Regions from separate parts of the Homo sapiens genome. Here region 2 is linked to region 1. Evidence: promoter capture Hi-C in human tissues and cell types (Jung and others, 2019). All regions are on one chromosome and are shown on one strand. Each heading gives the region's core, a stretch centred on a gene start or on the middle of the fragment in contact. The rest is flanking DNA. Distances are from core to core; before and after follow the strand shown. Region 1 overlaps MVP (major vault protein). Region 2 holds the start of DCTPP1 (dCTP pyrophosphatase 1).

Region 1 (3,474 bases), core at 975-3,474:
GGGAAGGGGCTGGAGGAGAATGAGTGCAATTCCCTGCCCTTCACAGCCTGCAATCGGAGCTGTGTTTTTGTTTTTGAGACAGAGTCTCGCTCTGTCCCCCAGGCCAGAGTACAATGGCGCAATCTCGACTCACTGCAACCTCTGCATCCCTGGTTCAAGCAATTCTCCTGCCTCAGCCTCCCGAGTAGCTGAGACTACAGTTGCCTGCCACCATGTACGGCTAATTTTTGTATTTTTAGTAGAGACGAAGTTTCACCATGTTGGCCAGGCTGGTCTCGAACTCCTGAGCTCAGGCAATCCGCCTGCCTTGGCCTCCCAAAGTGCTGGGATTACAGCCACTGCGCCCGGCCTGAAACTGATCTTTATCCTCCTCCCAGTTCCTACTGTGCACCAGAGACCCTCCAGTCTCTAATACCTTTGACTTGAAGAGCAGTCATTTTTTTTTCCTTTTCTTTTCTTTTCTTTTTTTTTTTTTTTTTTTTGAGATGGCCTCACTCTTGCCCAGGCTAGAGCGCACTCGTGTGCTCCATTTACGGCTCACTGCAGCCTTGACCTCCCAGGCACAGGCGATCCTCCCACCTCAGCCTCCAAAGTAGCAGGGACCACAGGTGTGCACCACCACACCTAGCTAATATTTTTTATGGTTTTTATAGAGACAGGGTCTCCCTATGTTGCCCAGGCTGGTCTTGAACTCCTGGCCTCAAGTGATCCTCCCATCTTGGTCTCCCAAAGTGCTGGGATTACAGGTGGGAGCCACCAAGCCTAGTCAACAGTCACTTTTATTCTCACTTCACTGGAGAGGAAGGCTCAGAGGCTAGTAAGTGGCCCAGGAGCATGCTGGCAGTGATAAAACCTGCTGGAGTGACATTTTCCCACTGGCTCTCAATCCTGGATATATATTAAGAGTCAGAGGCCAGGCGCGGTGGCTCACGCCTGTAATCCCAGCACTTTGGGAGGCCAAGGCAGGCGGATCACGAGGTTAGGAGATCAAGACCATCCTGGCTAACACAGTGAAACCCCATCTCTACTAAAAATACAAAAAAAATTAGCTAGGCGTGGTGGTGGGTGCCTGTAATCCCAGCTGAGGCAGGAGAATGGCATGAACCCGGGAGGCGGAGCTGCAGTGATCCGAGATCGTGCCACTGCACTCCAGCCTGGGTGACAGAGCGAGACTCGTCTCAGAAAAAAAAAAAAAAAATGAGGGAGAACTTTTTACAATAGCAACGGGTGAACCTCACCCAGACCAATTAAATAGAATCACCGGAGATGGGTGGCTTTAAAAAAAGGTCTCCAGAAGGCCTGGCGCGGCAGATCACACCTGTTATCCTAGCCCTTTGGGAGGCCGAGGTGGGTGGATCACTTCCAGCCTGACCAACATGGCGAAACCCTGTCCACTAAAAACAAAATTATCTGGGTGTGGTGGCGGACATCTGTAATCCCAGCTACTTGGGAGGCTGAAGCAGGAGAATTGCTTGAACTCGGGAGGCAGAGGTTGCAGTGAGCCGAGATGGCTACACTCCAGTCTGGGCAACAAGCACGAAACTCCATCTCAAAAAAAAAAAAAAAAAAAAAAAAAAAAAACAGATTTCCAGATGACCAGTGTGCAGCCCGAGCCGAGAGTCTGCTTTAGACCAGAGCTGCTCAGACTGTAATGTGCATGCAAGTCATTGAGGGTCGAGTTAAAATGCCAGTAGATTCAGTGGCTCTGGGGTGGGGCCCCAGGCTGTGTTGCTATCAAGCCTCCAGGTGGTACCACTCTACTCACTGCAGACCCCGTAGGCAGTGTGGTCACTTGGTCAATTGCCATTTAAGACTCACTAGGGGCCAGGTGTGGTGGTTCACGCCTGTAATCCTAGCACTTTGGGAGGCTGAGGCAGGCAGATTGCCTGAGCTCAGGAGTTTGAGACCACCCTGGGGTGAAACCCCATCTCTACTAAAATACAAAAAATTAGCCAGGCTTGGTGGCATGTGCCTGTAATTCCAGCTACTCGGGAGGCTGAGGCACGAGAATTGCTTGAACCTGGGAGGTAGGTGGACGTTGCAGTGAGCCGAGATTGTGCCACTTCACTCCAGCCTGGGCTACAGTCTCCAAAAAAAACAAAAAAGAGATTCAGTATATCAGCTACTCACAGTTGACCCTGAAGATCTCTGGGAAGTAGTGACTCATGACTCGTTTATTTATTAAGTTTTGCTGTAGCAGAAGTTTACTTTTGAGCCAAGAGTCTGATCCGGTCTCCCTCTTTTTTTTTTTTTTCTTTCTTTAAAGAGATGGGGCCTTGCTATGTTGCCCAAGCTGGTCTTGAACTCCTGGCCTCAATCCATCCTCCCACCTTCGGCCTCCCAAAGTGTTGGGATTACAGGTGTGAGCCACCTCTCTCAGGCAAGAGCCCCTCTTTTAACTAGACAATGAACCTGGTTTCTGCTTTGGACAGGCTATTTAGTTCCTGCTTATTTACCCTCATGGTGGGAGAGACCCTGGTGGGATTTGGGGTGAAAGCTGGCTGTGGTTCTTGCAGGAGCCTCATGACACCTGAGGGAGGTGTGATCAGGCAAGACTGGGCCTCTACACTGAGAGCCGACTAGGGCAGGTCTCAGAAGCAGAGACTGAAGGAAGTTGGGTGGATGAGTGGATCTGGGGAGCAGGGGCCAAGCCTGAGGGCTGGGCAGAGCCTTCCAAAGGTCAACACAATCCTTGCTATTGTCTTTTGAGGGCCCTGATCTATTTTAAGTAAAATGCTCTAACTGCGCATGTCATCTGGAAGGAAACCACAAAAAACTCAATCTGAGACTTGTCACCAATGTGCTGCCTGAGTCAAAGGGTTTCCCTGGCTCACCTCCATAGATGGCGAGGGTAGAAGGCAAGACCTGTCCTGGGTGGTCTAGGCAGAAGGCCCAGGTTTAGGGCATGGCAGGTGGGTGGTCAGGGAGGTGAGGTGGGGTCCTGGTGCTGATGCAGGGGCAGTTGCCGAGGGCTTGGCCTCAGAACAAGGCAGGAGTCCAGCCATGAGGATGACTCTTGCTGAGTCACTGAGCTGGGCGAGGCATTCAGACCCCCTGACTGGGCCCAGCTGGGGCGGCAGATGGTGGAGAGGCCTCAGCTGTGGGGGGTGTTGGGGAGATTATCCACTGATGAACCAAATGGAGGCTGTTCCCAGAGCCTGCTTCCAACCTTGCACGGCCTTCTAGAGTTCAAATCTTTCCTGGGGGGGCCTCAGAGCCCTGTCCATACCTCCGCTCACAGCCCCAGCCCTTCCTCTTCTCCCATCTGGTTTCCTGGCCAGGTTTCGGCCCTGCGGAGAACCCTCCAAGGGAGCAGTGGAAAAAGCTTCACTTGGCAGTAAAGCCCCTACTTGCTGTTCCATCCCTGCAGCTGGGGTGAAATAAGCCACTGACCAGTAAACAACTGAGGCTTAAACCAGCATGCCAGCTCAGGTGGGGAGCCCCCAGCACTGGTTATATTCCCTAGATTCCTCA
Region 2 (3,746 bases), core at 245-2,744, 610 kb after region 1:
AAGGCGGGTGGATCACCTGAGGTCAGGAATTTGAGACTAGCCTGACCAATATGGTGAAACCCCGTCTCCACTAAAAATACAAAAATTAGCCAGGCGTGGTGGGGGGCACCTGTAGTCCCAGCTACTCGGGGGGCTGAGACAGAACTGCTTAAACCCAGGAGGCGGATGTTGCAGTGAGCCGAAATTGAGCCACTGCACTCCAGCCTGGGCGACAGAGCGAGACCCCGTCTCAAAAAAAAGCCAAAAAAACAAAAAACAAAAGAAGGGAAAAGGGTTGTTGCCACTGCTTCTTCCTAGACGGGACCTGTCCTGATGCTTTCACACCTCACACCTCTCTCTTCCAGGAGGCTGAGTGCCCCTAGAGGGCAGGGACCCGTGAGTCCTCTCTGCATCCCAACAACAGCAAAGAGCCTAGCAATCAGGAGGGGAAACTGAACCCATGAATGTTTGAAGACCAAATAAATGCTCCCCTCCCCTCCCCCACAACTCAGACTCTACCAGGAAGCTTTCCATCTACTCACAAGAGTTCTGCCAGCTCCCCCACTTCCCCAACCAAGGCCAGGAGGAGATTCCGAGGCTGATGGAACTGTTCCCAGTCTCGTTCCGCAGCAAACTCAGCATGGAGGCGGCGGCTGAAATAGGACAAAGGAGTGTAAGTCCAAGTCTCCGGGTTAGAGGGTGATGCAGGGGCCAGAGGCAGCTACCCCCGTAGTATGTAATGGGGCCTGGGACCAGGAGATTCTGCAACTAATTCATTGGATGGTATTGTGCAGGTCATTTCCTCTTTCCGGAACTTGGTTCCCTCATCTATAAAATGGGCGTGCCCCTGAACTGCCCTTAACATCTCGCCAAAACTAACAAAACCCTCTTCATTATTCCATCTCCTGCTGCTACTTCTGCAGTTTCCTCCACCTGGAATCGCCGCACATCAAAATGCAATTTCTCTTACAGAAGGTAGTTCCACAGACCCTTCCTCTAAGAAGCCTTTCTTGACCTCCTCCAGCAAAAAATAACGTCTCCCACCTCTCAGCACTTCGTTTGCCCCTCTCGTACCCCCGGCGCCTGGAGAGCAGAGGCGGTATCTGGTGCCGGTATCTTCCCAGGGCTAGGCTGAAGGGCGTTCCTAGTTACCACTCGGAGGCACCACCCAATTTCCCTTGCCTCAGGTGTGCACCGCTGCGCCCATTTTGCAGATGAGGTAAGAAGGCTCACCCAGGGACAGCCCACAGAGCCAGGACCCGAGCCCCGCTGCCAGCCCGCTTCCCGACCACGTGGAGGAACCCTCCCCAAAACGCGGGAGAAAGGGGCGACTTCCCCACCCCGAGCTGGGCCAGGCCTGCTTACATGTCCTCGAGCGTGGGCTCCGGGCTGAAGCTGAACCGGCCGGGAGCAGCAGTGTCCTCTCCCCCCGTGTCCCCACGAATCTCCCCACCGGCCACAGACATGCCGCCCACCGCTGCACCGCGACTTCACGGAAAACCCACGAGCCACGCTCGAAGCCCCGCCTCCAGAGCTCCGACCAATTACGGGAGTTCTCTATTGCCTCACGGGGCGGAGCCTGAGGAAAGAGACCAATGACTTTTGTGGAGTTTGCTACAGCCCTCCCCTTCCCTCACTGGACCAATCTGAGGGAGCTTCAAGCGCGCGTTTCTAGTCTTAGGCCCTGGAATTCTTCCGCTAGGCCCTGTGTCTAAAGGTAGAGGTACCAATTCGACCTGGGGAAGAGACGAAGGGCAGAGGGTGGGGGAAGCGCAGGCGCGTCACTTCGTTTATGGGCGCCAGAGGGCGCCAAAGCGAAACGGCAGCGGAAGAGGGCCCGTCAGGTGGAAAACCCTATAAATGAAAGGCCCTATGCATAGGTATTAAATCAGGGCTTAAGGACGTTGAGAAACCTCGAGGCCAACCCCCACACTATTTGGATGGGATTGAAGGGGAAGAGCGGAGTAAGATCAGACGGCAGTAGGACTTCAGCTCCCCGCCATCGCTGTGTCCTGTGGTTGAAACGATGGAGGTCGCCCCATCCCTGTCCTAAGGGAGGCAGTAGGCCCCAGCGCAACGTACATTGCCCTGAAACACGTGGCCCCTTATGGTCTGGCCTGTGCCGGCCTCTCCAGCCTCATGGGTCCCCAGCACGGCTCCTCCACCCCACACACGAGAACTCCAGGCTCCACTCACACCAGGGAATACGCGAGGTGGCGAGTCACAGGGTTGCTGCTTTCAAATCAGAACCACTGAGTTATTGGCCATGGGAGGAGCAGAGATCTTTATGAAACCCTAGAACAGGTGTAGTCTTGCAAAGAATGATTTATTATTGTACCCTTATTAGGGCTACTATCTCTGATTTCCACGTTTAAAGAGGCTTCCAGCTTGCTGGAAGTGAAAGCGTAAGAAAGCGCAGGAAGAGGCAGAGTCAGATTTTGGAAATTAAAATCCCAAGGCTGTGACAATTGCAATTCTAGGTATATGCCCTAGAGAAATTAATGAATATGTGCAGAGAGACACATGCAAGAAGTTCATTACAGTTTTGTTTCTAAGAGTGAAAAAAATTGAAAATAAAATGACTATCAACGGAAGAATGGCTACATGGAAGTATATTTATACAAATGATATTATCCAGCAGTTAAGATTGGATACATGCAACAGAAACAAGTTTAAACTGCTTTTAGCAAGAAAAAGAAATCTATTATTTTTATTTTTTAAATTTTTTATAGAGACAGGGTTTCACCATGTTGCCTAAGCTGGTCTTGAACCAGGATTGCTGGATTGGGCTCTAGCAATCCTCCTGCCTTGGCCTCCCGAAGTGCTGGGATTACAGGCACGAGCCACCCCCACCGGCCACAAGGAATTTATTGTAAGGATACAAGAGTGTCTCCAGAATACAGTGGGACCTCAGGAATGAACTGGAACTGGGGTGGCTGTTTTAAGCATTTTACATATTTAATCCTCATAGCAACTAATTTAATCCTCACAAAAACCCTATATGGTAGGTAATATTGTTGTCATCCCCATTTTAAAGATAAGGAAACTGAGGCCGGGCGCGGTGGCTCACGCCTGTAATGCCAGCACTTTGGGAGGCCGAGGCGGGCGGATCACGAGGTCAGGAGATCGAGACCATCCTGGCTAACACGGTGAAACCCCGTCTGTACTAAAAATACAAAAAATTAGCTGGGTGTGGTGGCGGGCACCTGTAGTCCCAGCTACTCAGGAGGCTGAGGCAGGAGAATGGTGTGAACCTGGGAGGTGGAGCTTGCAGTGAGCCGAGATCGCGCCACTGTGCTTCAGCCTGGGCGAAAGAGCGAGACTCCGTCTCAAAAAAAAAAAAAAAAAAAAAAAAAAAAAGATAAGGAAACTGAGAGGTTAAATAACTTAACAGCTAGTAAAGTGGTAGAGCTGGCGTCAAATCCAGGCAGTTTGGCTTCACAGTCTGTTATTAGACCCTATGATGTATTGCCTGAAATGGCGATAAATATGAAAAAAATAAATGTAACTGTATTTTAAATACTATGAAAGGCTGGGCGTAGTGGCTCATGCTTGTAATCCTAGCACTTTGGGAGGCGGAGGTGGGCAGATCACTTGAGATCAGGAGTTTGAGACCAGCCTGGGCAACATGGTGAAACCCTTTCTCTATTAAAAATACAAACTTAGCTGGGTGTGGTGGTGCATGCTTGTAGTCCCAGCTGCTCAGGAGGCTGAGGCATGAGAATCACTTGAACCCGAGAGATGGAGGTTGCAGTGAGGCGAGATTG

The links. Contacts are between HindIII fragments. The study calls those that stand out against the background at their distance.
Region 2: a contact is called between the fragment with the promoter of DCTPP1 here and a fragment that was not itself captured in region 1, in 1 of the 25 tissues and cell types used here (dorsolateral prefrontal cortex).

What each region holds. Positions count from the first base shown.
Region 1 is chr16:29,822,661-29,826,134 of GRCh38, forward strand. All of the region lies in intron 1 of MVP (major vault protein), which reads left to right. Among named protein-coding and RNA genes, the nearest start is that of MVP, 3.9 kb to the left of the region's middle. RefSeq lists enhancers at 2,468-2,547, 2,608-2,737, 2,924-3,474. The HindIII fragment of the contact is 4,985 bases long and covers 1-3,474 here.
Region 2 is chr16:30,428,536-30,432,281 of GRCh38, forward strand. It overlaps DCTPP1 (dCTP pyrophosphatase 1), which reads right to left and starts at 1,495. Exons shown (of 3, transcript NM_024096.2): 1 at 1,345-1,495; 2 at 522-632. The coding sequence starts at 1,445. RefSeq lists enhancers at 1-98, 99-599, 1,353-1,432, 1,833-1,942. The HindIII fragment of the contact is 14,232 bases long and covers 1-3,746 here.